Linked DNA regions of Homo sapiens: region 1 is linked to region 2. The links are contacts of gene promoters, found by promoter capture Hi-C in blood cells and fetal thymus (Javierre and others, 2016). All regions are on one chromosome and are shown on one strand. Each heading gives the region's core, a stretch centred on a gene start or on the middle of the fragment in contact. The rest is flanking DNA. Distances are from core to core; before and after follow the strand shown.

What was found. The method cuts DNA at HindIII sites, captures the fragments that hold promoters and counts their contacts. A CHiCAGO score of 5 or more calls a contact.
Region 1: a contact is called between the fragment with the promoter of PLEKHS1 here and the fragment with the promoter of CCDC186 in region 2, in 6 of 17 cell types (M1 macrophages, megakaryocytes, M2 macrophages and 3 more). The highest score is 7.0, in M1 macrophages.

Annotation. Positions count from the first base shown.
Region 1 is chr10:113,748,726-113,755,870 of GRCh38, reverse strand. It overlaps PLEKHS1 (pleckstrin homology domain containing S1), which reads right to left and starts at 4,189. Exons shown (of 13, transcript NM_001395068.1): 1 at 4,110-4,189; 2 at 566-612. The coding sequence starts at 593. The HindIII fragment of the contact is 1,743 bases long and covers 4,056-5,798 here.
Region 2 is chr10:114,172,046-114,178,471 of GRCh38, reverse strand. CCDC186 (coiled-coil domain containing 186) reads left to right here and starts at 4,269. Exons shown (of 16, transcript NM_018017.4): 1 at 4,269-4,457. MIR2110 (microRNA 2110) reads left to right here and starts at 4,293; the gene lies at 4,293-4,367. It also overlaps a transcript of TDRD1 not described here. RefSeq lists a silencer at 3,934-4,203 and enhancers at 4,264-4,463, 4,059-4,587. The HindIII fragment of the contact is 5,809 bases long and covers 2,361-6,426 here.

The DNA of each region.
Region 1 (7,145 bases), core at 2,940-5,439, 420 kb after region 2:
TGGGCAATGAATGGAAAATTTGGCTCATGAAAATCAGAAAATGCTAAACTTCTAGACAGGTAAACTCTTACACAATAATTAATTGAATCCAACAGTTCCTGCTACATTCTCCAAACCAAGAATCATTGTCACAGAATGCCACCCATTATCCCCACCTGGGTTCTGGGGCTGTACATGGTGGCTTATGCCTGTAATCTCAGCACTTTGGGAGGCTGAGAGGTGGGGAATCACCTAGGCCGGGAGTTTGAGACCAGCCTGACCAACATGGAGAAACCCCGTCTCTACTAAAAATACGAAAATTAGGCAGGCATGGTGGCATATGCCTGTAGTGCCAGCTCCTCGGGAGGCTGAGGTTAGAGGATCACTTGAGCTGGCAGGTTGCAGTGAGCTTAGATCGTGCCACTGTACTCCAGCCTACGCAACAGAGCAAGACTGTCTCAAACAAAACAAAACAAAACAACATACACAAAAACCACCAAGTTCTGTATCCTGGTTAGCTTGAAGGAAACCGTGGGGCATTTTCAATAAAAAGATTTCTGCTTCTGCGATTATACCCCTCGGGTACCTGGACTCTTCTGAGGTTTGGGTTCCATGATGGCTGTGTGTCCTCCCCTGTCAAAAGGAAGGGTTAGTGTTAGTCCCCAAACAACACTACGTGTGTTTCATTGACCAGCCACCGCTGGTCAGTGAGTATCAGGATTGTGCTCACGAATGTTGCTGAGATGGGTTGTGAGTCTCCCATTCCCATCCTTTCTTTAGTATTTCCCTCCCTGTTCCTGAGGCTGACGGTAGCTGCAGTAACGGGGACACATCTAAGCAGCTTGTCCTCACACAGTGGGTGGTTCTGCGGAGGTGTTGTTGAGAAGACTGAAGGAGCTTGTCTTCCTGGGATTTTCTCTGTTCTTACTGCTTTGATAAGAGAGCTGGCGGATGGCAACACAAAGGAGAGATAAGAACAGGGCAAAGGGCAGGATGCCATGGAGCCAACGTAGCCGAGAAAGCATCACTGGCTGAGAGGAAGCCCAAGATAAGCCTTTCTCCATGCCCAGGGGCTTGCTTTCTCCAGGGGAAACTTAAGAACAAGGACCGCCAGGCACGGTGGCTCATGCCTGTAATCCCAGCACTTTGGGAGGCTGAGGCGGGTAGATCATGAGGTCAGGAGTTCGAGACCAGCCTGACCAACATGGTGAAACCCCATCTCTACTAAAAATACAAAAATTAGCCGGGTGTGGTGGTGGGCACCTGTAATCCTAGTGCTCGCCTGTAATCCCTCAGGAGGCTGAGGTAGGAGAGTCGCTTGAACCCGGGAGGCGGAGGTTGCAGTGAGCCGAGATCACTCCACTGCACTCCAGCCTGGGCGACAGAGCAAGACTCCTGAGGATAACCTGGAGAAACTGAATCTGAGAGGCAGCATCCTTTCCTGGCCAGCTGCTGGCGATCCTATGACCATCATAGGATGGAGAGAAGGGACTCCCTCAGGGGAAGGGCTGCAGGGCAAGTGAGGTCTTTGAAACCACAAATTTGGTATGACTAACTTTTACCTTAAGTTAGTAAGACTCTCAAAATAGAAGGCCCTGAAAAGGGAGGTGCCCAAGCAGCCCCAAGTAAGATGGGGGAGGAAGCAGAGGCCCTTGACCCTCCTGACCTCTCCCTTTCTTCAACATAAACTCATTCTTCCTTCCTAACATGTAGATGACTTACAGCAATTCTTTAATTACGTGTGTGTATATGCATATACAGAGATGAAAAAATACATATATTCAGGCTGGGTGCAGTGGCTCATGCCTGTAATCCCAGTACTTTGGGAGGTTGAGGTGGGCGGATTGTTTGAGGTCAGGAATTCCAGACCAGCCTGGCCAACATGGCAAAACCCCATCTCTACTAAAAGTACAAAAATTGGCCGAGCGTGGTGGCGGGCACCTGTAATCCCAGCTACTTGGGAGGCTGAGGCAGAAGAATCACATGAACCCAGAAGGCAGAGGTAGTGAGCCGAGATCACATTACTGCACTCCAGCCTGCGTGATAGAGCAAGACTCCATCTCAAATAAAAAAAATATATAATACAAATATATATATATATGTGTTCAGAGATGAAAATCCTAAGATTAAGACAAGTTCTAAGATATGCTTTTGGTGGTTTGTCAGAGCATTTGGAAGCTCTTTGAAGACCAGTGGGATGGCTTTCCTGGACCCTGGAATCATACCTACCCTGCCCCTAGGGAAAGATTTTCTCCCTTGAGGTATCCTGTATAATCACAGTAGTGATCATTTGAACAAATTACAACTTTTCTCGGGCATCTGAAGGCATATGTTGAAGAACCGGTGCCCTTAGCCCTCGCCTGCTGTAGCGGGCACACTCAGCTCTGTGCAATGAGCTATAATGCCTGGGAAAGATGCCAAGCTATTGAGGCCGAAGGCTGTTGTTTCCTGGAAGAGCAATTCTGTGTGAGAAAGAGAACGTAACCTCTTCAAAACCTTGCCCACTCCCCAAAATGCATGGATAATATTTAAAAAATTATCCCTGAGATTTCTTATCAAATCCATGAGGTTCTTTCCAGTTTCAAGGATTTCACTGCCTGAAGAGCTGGGGACAAGCGGTTTTCAACCCATCACCTTTCCCTCTGTCCATGTTTATAGGACTTGGCCACGCCCCCTATGCAGCTGTTAGCCTAATGAGTGATGGCCCTCAAGGATCCAATCGGAGAAATGTGCAGGAGAGATTAGCTGTGGGTGGCATATTTTAAAGCAGTGTTTACTGCAAGCTGTTTTTGAGCTGCTGTTTGTCAAAAAGCCAAAAAATCATTTTAAAAAATATTTCTAAAGCCTTTAAAGTTTATAAAATGCATTTGCATACATTATTTTTTTGTGTTCAGAATGGCTTCATTCTGAGATAGCTCATTTTACAAATGAAAAGCTGCATTTGAGAGAAGACTGAGATGACTTGGACCTAGGTCCCCTGGCAGAACTCCACACAGCACCACATTCATGCTCATGGACACTCCCAAATAACATTTGCCCTCCCTGTGCCCTGTGGATGTCAAAGTGTGCTTTGGAGGACATCTCTGTCCTTCCAGTGTCTGCAAAGGGCTCCAGAGTCATGTGCTGCAACCATTCCTCCTTCATCTCCCCACCCACCGTAAAATGAGAGGACAGATAAGGCAGTAGGGTGTGGTGGTTTAGAGTGTTAGCTCTGGCATCTGGGTTTAAATTTCATCTCCATGAATTATGAGGAATGTGATCTTGGATACTTTATAATACTTCTCTACACCTCCATTTCTTCATCTGTAACATGAAGGTTATTACTACCCTCATCAGATTGCTGGGAGTATCACTTGAGATACCCTGTTGATGAGCACTCCTCAGTACATAATAGAAGCTCAATAAATGCTAGTTGTTAGGTCCTTTCCAGCTCAGATATTCTATGATTCTATGGTTGTTTAATAATGGGTAGCATTTTTTGAGTACTTAATACATTCCAGGCACTTCTAAGCAATATGTATATGAAAGATTTTATGTATATGTATACATATAATTTCACATATACATATAAAATCTCATCCTAACCTCATAACCGTACTCTAAAGCTTGCACTGTTTTCACAATGATACAATGCCCATTTACAGACGAGGAAATGGTTATCGGAGAGATTAAACAACTTTACTTTGATCATGTAATTAAAAAGAAGCAGAACCAGAATTCTAGCTTGAGAGCTGGCCTTAACTACTTTGCTTTTCCTCCTATCTAAGAAAGTAGAATTAAGTCTTTTCATAGTTCTGCTTGTTTTTCTTGTCATTGCCCCCAAACAAAAAAGAAAGCCTTTCTGATTTAGCTGTTTGATCTCATTCAGGAGAATCTCCCCACAGTCACTGCCTGACCCATTTATTATAACATTATTTTGGATTTGGTGAATACAGTATACCAAGAGGTCAGTCCTATTTCCCTCTGACTATAGTATAGCCTAGGAAGCTTATGAAGAAAGTGCCCATAACAGAAATACAGCATATCTGCAAAATTTTCCATTTCCAATTTTGCAATTGTTCAATTGCAAAAAAGCTTCTAGATCATCCCAGCCTTGGAAGTCCAAACCAGATACACCAAGCAGTACTTACTGGAAGCCAAGAGGTCGCTGGTCCAGTGCTCAGGAAAGTGCCTTGTCCCGAGGATTCCTGAACTCACTCCTGCTGACTCTGAGCCTTGGTGCCTGGGTGAGGATTAAGCACAAACTCTGCTTGAAATCTGAACCACCAGGAAGTTCCCAAACTAATATCCTTGAGCAGATTTTATTCTTGCCCCAAACTGAAATGGAAGCTATGCCCTCAGGGGAAGTTCTGGGCCTTCATACTTGTGGCTTGCCACAGAACTCTCCTTGGTGTCCCAGCTGCCTAGCACCAAAAATGAAAGCAAACACATTAATAATAAAAAAAAATTCCTGCCAGACTTTGGACCATGGTCACAATAACCCTTATTGAGAACAACGCCAATTTACCCTCAACCGTCTGTGGTGACTACCATTGAAAAAAAATCCCTATGCCTCCCTCAGCCATATCTTAACCAATGTCTTCCTGGGAAGGGTAGAAAGGGTTCCTTTGTACCAGATGAGGAAACAAAAGCCTGGCTTCTCTAAACACTTGTACATGCCAATGGTTTCCAGGAAGAGTTGCTCATTCAGCCATGACAGAGTGTTACCATCAACAGGGTGGCGCTAGGCATGTTCCCCTGCACAGCCACCAACAGCAATTGAGCAAACCATCATTCTTAGACCTGGTGAGTGGTATCCAGCCACCAAAGGGTCTTAGGTATATTTTCATGTGTATTACAGATTTCTAGGGGAGAGGAAGAAGTGATGATGAATTTTATCCTGTTCTACTGCCTTTAGAAGTAAAAGTACATCATTTGAATCCTCATCCTCACGAGGGTAGCTGGTCTGGAATCAGCTCTGCCATGGATCCATTGTGTGGTCTTGGCAAGTTAACTGGAGTTCTCTGAGTCTGTTTCCTCATCTGCAAAATGGAACAGATAATACTGACTTCACAGGATTTTTTTTTAAAGTTAAGTAAAATTTCACATATAAAAAGCATCTAGCACAGTGCTTTATCCACAGTTAGCATTCAACAGAGGGTATTTCTTTGTTTTTCTCTTTTGCATCCTATGGAGGGTAGATGTTATTGGTTTCTTCATTTAGCAAACCTAGCTGGACTTCAGGCATACAGAAATTATTGATATATTGTTTGCTTCCTGCACAGGACCAGTTTTGCTTGATTTAGGAAAAACAATTTCTTAATTTTGATATAGTTTGGATGTCCCCTCCAAATCTCATGTTGAGATGTAATCCCCAGTGATGGAGGTGGAGTCTGGCTGGAGGTGTTGGGTCCTGGGGGTGGATCCCTCATGGCTTGGTTCTGTGTCTGAGATAGTGAGTTGTACTGAGGTCTTTATTTAAAAGTGTGTGGCATCTCCCCCAACTCTACTGCTCCCACTCCCACCAGGTGACATGGCTACTCCCGCCTCACCTTCCACCATGCGTAAAAGAAAGCCCCCTGAGGTCTTCTCAGAAGCTGAGAGATGCCAGGACTATGCTTCCTGTACAGCTTGCAGAACCATGGGCCAATTAAACCTCTTTTCTTTATAAATTATCAAATCTCAGGTATTTCTTTATAACAAGACAGAGATAGACCTAACAGAATTTCCTGGATGTTCTTTTGGGCTAACTTTTGATAATTCTGGAGATAGTCTTAATGTCTTTACATTAGAATTTTAATCAGATACCAGTTGTAGCTCTAAGTAGTTCATAAAAAGCTTGTGCTGATTTCCACTTACTTGGGAACTATAAAGTCCAGACAGCCTATTGTTATAATATAGAGACCTAACCAAAAAGGGGAAGAGGGAAAATTACTGTAAGACTTGTGTTCCTTTGGAAAGGATACCGATGAAACAGTTAGATGTGCTTTCCATCAGCAACCTGTTCATCTGTCTGTCCCTCCACCTACCCACCCATCCAACCCACCCTATTCTAGGCTTTTTTGTATTATTTTTCCAATAGTATTACAAAACTCTTTGGAGGAAGAAGCCTAACAAAGCTATTTGTACTGTAGATAAACCCATGAAATATAAACTGAAAAGCAAACAAAAACTGGCACAGACACCAAATACTAAACTTGCAAAACAAACATACCTATGAAACACAAGCATAGGTTTTTTTTTTTTTTTTTTTTTTTTGAGACGGAGTCTAGCTCTGTCGCCCAGGCTGGAGTGCAGTGGCGCGATCTCGGCTCACTGCAAGCTCCGCCTCCCGGGTTCACGCCATTCTCCTGCCTCAGCCTCCCGAGTAGCTGGGACTACAGGCGCCCGCTACCACGCCCGGCTAATTTTTTGTATTTTTAGCAGAGACGGGGTTTCACCGTGTTAGCCAGGATGGTCTCGATCTCCTGACCTCGTGATCCGCCCGCCTCGGCCTCCCAAAGTGCTGGGATTACAGGCGTGAGCCACCGCGCCCGGCCAAGCATAGGTTTTTAAAAGTTGTTTCCAATGACCTGTAAACAAGGTATCAATTACCTGTCACAAAAAGCAATCGCCTGTTCATCTGAAATATCAGATGAGTTATTCCATGACTTTGTTAATTGCGCTTTCCTGTCATGAAGATGCTCTTGAGTTCTGCTGCCTCTTAACCAAAACACAACCGAACAGTTTATATGGCATGGCAATACCTACTACTTATTGGGGATTTTTGTTTTACATAGAATATCTCATTTAATTCTACCTTGTTGCAGGATAAAATCTATTAATCCTAATTTTAAAAGAGGAAATTTAAATTTAGAGAGATTAAATAACTAGCTAAGGATCATGCAGCTAGTAAGTGACACACAGAAATCAGACTGGTCTGTCTTGACTCCGAAGCCTGTGTGTGTTCTTTCATATGCTACACTATGTGAGTCCTGGGCTGAGATCAGTTGGCCTCGGGTCTCGGCCTACTCTGACTGTGTGACATTGCGTAGATTGCCAGATATTGGGCCTCATAATCCCATTACTGTCCTTCCCCAAAGAGCTCTAAGTACCCATTCATCTCTGATTATGATTATGCCTTTGAATCAAAGTCAAGGGCTTATTAGCGTGCAGGCCATTTCACTCCATGCTGCGTGCTCATTGTC
Region 2 (6,426 bases), core at 3,020-5,519:
CAAGATTAATGATGATGCCTAGACTTACTCTCGCACCCAAACTTTGAAAATATTTTGATCTTATATAGCTTCTGGGCACTTTTAATGTAACCCCTGGGCAGAACCTCTACCACCTAATATTTAAAGTGTGCTGACCCACTGCTTTGGAGTAGTTTAACAGAAATTCTCTGGGCTCTCCCTGGTTGCAGTCCTCAGTAAGACTCTGAATAAAACTAACTTCACTAACTTCAATTCTTTAAAAGCCTGATTTTTTTTCTTTAGTTGATGTGTCTTTTAAATTTATTTTTTAGAGCAGTTTCAGATTTACAGAATAGTGAAATGAAAGTGCTGACTGGGCGTGGGGGCTCATGCCTGTAATCCCAGCACTTTGGGAGGCCGAGGCAGGCAGATCACTTGAGGTCTGGAGTTCGAGACCAGCCTGGCCAACATGGTGAAACCCCGTCTCTACTTAAAATAAAAAAATAAAAAAAAATTAGCTGGGTGTGGTGGCAGGCGCCTGTAATCCCAGCTACTTGGGAAACTAAGGCAGGAGAATCGCCTGCACCCAGGAGGCGGAGGTTTCACCGAGCCAAGATCACTGCCACTGCACTCCAGCCTGGGCAACAGAGCAAGACTGTCTCAAAAAAAAAAAAAAAAAGAAAAAGAAAGAAAGAAAAGAAGGTGCTGTACAGAGTTCTGACAGAAGCCACATCGTTTCCCCTATTATTAGCATGGTCTGTTAGCATGATACATTTGTTATAATTAAGGAACCAAGGAACCAACATTGATACAGTATTAACTAAAGCCCATCTTTTTGATTTCCTTCGTTTTTACCTACTGTCCCTTTTCTGATGCAAGATCTCATCAGGATATCATATTACATTTAGTTTTCATGGATCCTTAGGCTCTTCTTGGCCATGGGACTTCCTTAGACTTTGTTTTGATGACCTTGATGTCAAGTTTCCAGGAGTACTCTCAGGCCTTTTGTAGGATGCCCTACTTTTGGAATTTGTCTGATGTTTTTCTGCTGGTAGGAAAGGAGTTACGGGTTATTGGAAGGAAGACCACAGAGGTAAAAATGCCATTTTTATTGCATCATATCAAGCATACATCCTATGAATATGATTATGACAATTGATGTAGGATTTGGTCATCTGGCTGTGGTAGTGTTTGTTGGGTCTTTCTACTATATTCTTTTTTTTCCCTTCCCTTTTCATACTATACACTTTGGAAGGAAGCTATTATTTGAAGCCCACATTTAAGGAGTAGGGAGTTATGTTGTCCCTCTTTGAGGATGCAGTATCTGCAGAAATTATTTGAAATTCTTCTGCATGGGAGATTTGTCTCTTCTCCATTTACTAATTTAATAACGGACTCGGATATTTATTTTATACTTTTTTTTTCTTATTTTATACTTTTCTAATCCAAAACTACTGTATTTCCTTGCTCAGATTTTTCCAGCTTTGGCCACAGGAAGCTCTTTCAGTTGGTTTCTGTTCCTTCACATACTATCATCAGGTGGTATTTTGTTTGTTAAGCACTTTATTACTTTCTGGGATATTGTATCTTTTCATCCAAAAATATTGTAAGTAGGTGTCTTTAAGAGATTACCACTTTTTAAGTAATATCACCAAAACATATCCCAACTTTAAAAACAATAATTTCTCTTGCTTTCCTTTCTTTTCTCCTTTTTCTCCTTTCCTCTCCTTTCCTTTCTTTCTGAAAGGGTCTTGCTCTGCCGCCCAGACTAGAGTGCAGTGGCACAGTCATAGTTCACTGCAGTCCTGAACTGCTGGACTCAAGCCATCACCCTGCCTCAGTAGCTGGGATTACAAGTGTGAGCCATAGTGCCTGGCCATAATTTCTTAATATCATAAAATTAATACTAAACATTTCCAGATACCTCAAATGTTATTTTTTAATTTTCTTTTTAGAGATGGGATCCCACTGTGTTGTCCAGGCTGGTCTCAAACTCCTGAGCTCAAGCAGCCCACCTTGGCCTCCCAAAGGGCTGGGATTACAGGTGTGAGCCACCACACCCAGCCATTCAGATGTTATCTTAAATCGTTGATATGTTCAAATCAGTATCAAAACATCCTGTATTTGCACTCAGTGATATATTTTAAAAAGGGGTTTCTCTTTAAATCCTGTACTTCTCTTGCAATTTATTTATTACAGTAACTGCAGGGTTTTTTTTTTTTTCCATTCAATTTTGTTGATTGCATCCCCCGGCAGGAATACTTCACAGGTGGTGTTGTGCTTCTCTATTGTAGCATTTCAGAAAATACATAGTATGTAGTTGTTTCACTTTGGAGGATATTAAGATTGATCTAGTAGGTTCAAGTGGTGCCAGCCCCATCCATCCATTACAATACGAAGCTTCCTATCAGTTTTTCATCTAATGGTTCTAGATTCACAGATGACCATTACCTAGATCCATTATTTCATCAGGGTTTGCAAAATGGTGATCATCTATCTTTCTTTCTGCAATTATTACATGGAGTTCTACAGAGAAGAGCTTCCCCACATTGACTATTTGATTGACATTCAGTTTGCAACAGGAAAGGTAGGATGAATGCTTGATTCTTTATCAGTTCTCAGATTGTAATGACTTGTTGGCATCTTTCCAAGAGGGTCAATGACATTAAAAAAAATAAATGCACTCACTGATTTTTTTACATAGTGCGTCTCAACCAGTTGCTGTTATTATTTTTGAATGCTAAATTTGTCCTGTTTGAGAAGTTGGGGCATCTTTGAACTGCCTTCTGAGTCTTTTGGGTACAGTTCATGTTATCTTTGCTTTTCTTCCTTGCTTTCTGCTACAAGCAATATGTCCTAGGCTATCTTGCATATTTCTTGCCCCTACTGGGAATCAGCACTTAACCTCCAAGAGAAGCCAAGGTAACTTTTTTTGGGCAATGCTCTTTAGAGATCACAATCTGGGGAATAGGAGTGTGCAATGGGTTGGTCACTGTTCTAAGAGTTTTCAGTGGACACACCTTTTTTTTCACGAAAAAAATGTACCATGAGTTAATTCTGATATTTGTAAATTCAAATATAGGATTGCAGAATTTTAATATAATGTCTTTGGTTTATATTTGTATTTCTTTTCTCTTATGGTGAAAAACTTGGTTCACAAAGATATATTTATATACTTTATACTAATTATAAATTCAGAAATATTCAGAAATAGTAATACCTATGTTATTACTGACGAGTACCGAAAACAGCTTAAGGTTTCTTCAGTTTTTTCCCCTTGGATTAATGTCTCCCTAGGAAGGCTTGGTCGATTTATTGTTTTAAAGTCAAATCATTTATTTTCTATGACAAGACACTTTAACTGCAAAATGTGCTTCAGTGTAGTACCTTCATTTAAGGAGGAGTGAGGTGCCATTACACCTCCGTGTGTGTGTTTTGCCAACAGTATCGAAGACGCTTAACAGAACAGTAGTAAGTTTTGCTTTACAAATTCTTACATTGCAGAATCGTCTGCATCAGCTATTTTCATTCATGAGATATGTGTAAGACCTAAACCAAAGAACATCGTTTCCCCGGACTGAGGAGGTTTGCGAAACCTCCAGAGACTGAACTGCTGACCTTCCTTCTCTGGGCCGGGCGAGGCAACTGTACCCAATACACTTTTTGTTGCCATGCTGCGTGCCAGGTTACTCAGCCGGGAGAGGACACTTCCTACCATCAATGCGCTCAGCTTGAAGCCAGAGACGAAGGCACCGACAGTTTATTATTAAACAATGGCAGCAGCGCCACGCTGAAGACACGAACGCGCTGTTATGGAACCCCCAGAGGTCTCCCCCATCGTAGCCTGCTCCAGCCGACTCCGCCCACGTAAGGTGCAAGGTTTCCGCATGAGAGCCGGGAAGCCACAATTTCAAATTCTCTTTTATTGCTTTATGTCCCTGACTCATGCAGGCCAAAGGGTGAGGAGGAGTAATAGCCAACAAGAGCGTCCTGCAGAAAGAAACAGGCTGCGTGGGTCCGGAGGAGCTTGAAAGGAAGAACCCGACCAAAGGGCAGGAGACCCGGCTCTCCAGGTCGCGGAGGCGTGGGTGCCCAGCCAGGCGGAGTGCGGGGCGGGGCCTCTCGGGCCGCAAGGTGGGGCCTCCTGGGCCGGGAGGTGGGAGGTGAGCTCCGCCAGCCCAGCCCACTGCAGACAGGTTACCCAGGACCTCAAGGTGTGCTGCGTCACCCCGCCCGCGCTGCGCTGATTGGTTCCTCCAGGGAGCCCCCGCCCCCTCAGCTGTAACCGGGCCGGCTTCAGTGTCGCCGCCATCTTTGTTGATGTGTCAGCTCCGCAGGGGTTTGGGGAAACGGCCGCTGAGTGAGGCGTCGGCTGTGTTTCTCACCGCGGTCTTTTCCTCCCACTCTTGGCTGGTTGGACCCCGCTATGGAAAAGTTGGCCCCTGAGCCAGAGCTCCAGCAGCCTTGTTAGGGCGTGGCCTGAGGCTTGGATAAGTGGGGTAAGTGTCTGAGGGGTACTCGGGGCACACCGGTGAGTCGCGGTGGCGGTGCGGTGGGGCTGCCAGCCTTCCGCTCCTTCCTGCACGTTCCGTGGCGGGGGCGAGGGCGAGTGCGAGGTGGAGGTCGAGGTCGAGCGGGCTCCCCGCCTGGCTCCTTTGAGGGCGCGGAGGAAGGGGAGGGCTGGGGAACGGGTTTCAAGCCCTTTCCTCTCCCTGCCTTCCTCCTTCGGTTCCGGGACCTTGGAGGTGGCAAAGAGGGGTCAGCGGGGGTCGTGGGGGCTGTGCCTCGAGAGCGTCTGAATTCGAGCCCATTGCCTGGGCTGCGTGTGAACTGCAGCCAAGCCCTACCTGCTCGAGAATCTTTCCTAGACTCAATCGCCTATTTCGTTTTTCGTCTCAAGTTGACTGTATGTGGGTGTTTTATATTTACTGTTGTGAAGACTTGTTACCCTCTTCCAAACACTTCCATTACTGTGATTCTAAGTTCCTTAGAAGTGATTCTTTGGAGTGGTGGATACTGTTCTTTATGTTGTCTTTCAAGGACGTCAAGGCATTTCATAAACCTTGGTTGGTAAGGAAGGGGTTTCAGATTTATGTCTCCATCAGTAATGAAAAATGGCAAAAACAAAACAAAAACCCTTCTACGTGTCCCTAAGTAGCAATCTTGGGAAACAGTGCAGGTGTGAGTATTGCTTAGCTGTTAACAGTTTAACAACTTCACCTAATATTCCCATCTTGATTTTGTTTAGAGGAAAAAGTCCTGGATTTCGAGTCAGAACATCTGGATTAGAATCCTACTTCTTTCACTTGATAATCTTGTTACCTGTGGAAATCAGAAGAGAGAATATAGTAAAAATACGCAGTACAGTCCCAGGTACTTGGCCGTTTTCTCTGCATGTGTGTCATGTTCCTTTGATGCCCAGCTTTTTTTTCTTCCAAAACGATAGGCCGGGTGTTGTCTTCTAAGGTGTTCAGTAAATCAGGGTTTCAAGAGGTGTGCTGGTAGTCATTCAGAAGAAATTAATCTGCTATTATCTATTTAGGTATGCTAGTTGTGGGTGTGGCTTTCCCAACTATCAAGTACACCTTAATATTTACCGAGTGTTCATCTCGTGGGAAGGATTCAGGTTCAAGAGAGATTGATAGTGAAACTGAACTATCTCTGTGTGTAATGTACACTGTTCCCTGTGTAACTTCAATTCTTTATCCAACATTACACAAATAAAAAACAGTAATGATTGGCTAGGTTCATTTTTCTCTTTTATTTCTGGTCTTTTCATGTTATTTTTAATGCAGTGAAGATATTAGATCACGAATCTTGCAGTATTAAGAATTAAAACTTTTTACAGCATAATAGGCAAACGTATGATTACTGAAGATTCTCCCTGGAAATGCATGGATTGTGTTTGTTTTTTAAAGGCCCTGTTAAATTCAGAATAACTGCATATAAACTTAAGGTTTCTTTAAACAGTGGAGATTCCATAGTGTGTCATTGGCTTTTGAGTCCTATTTATTGCTAACGGAAAGGGTTGGCTGGTGTGTATCACAGTGACCACTCTAACCTTTTAGTTCTTTCACCCATAAAGTAGAGTTGTCCTTTAATGCTATGCAGTGACAGCATAGCTAATGATTGCTTAGTATGTTCAGTTTAGAAACATCTATTTGCAGCTTTATGCTGACATCACAGAGTGAAGATAAAAGCATTGCAGTATACTGACTCCAGGAAGAGACAGTAGGTTGAAGCACAAAGCAGCTTTATTTGGAGATTTAGAAAATAATCTTTCCCTTTGAAGAAGGACTGGTAATCTGCACTAGTTTCTCAAATTCATGCAACAGTTTCGTGTTAAAGTAAGAATCCTTACCCTGAAATTTTTTTTCTTTTAGTAAAACTTAGGTTTTTCTTTTATCTCTACCTTAAAATAACTAAAGCTGGTTTTTCAATTTCTCATAAACATATCACTGAGTTTAC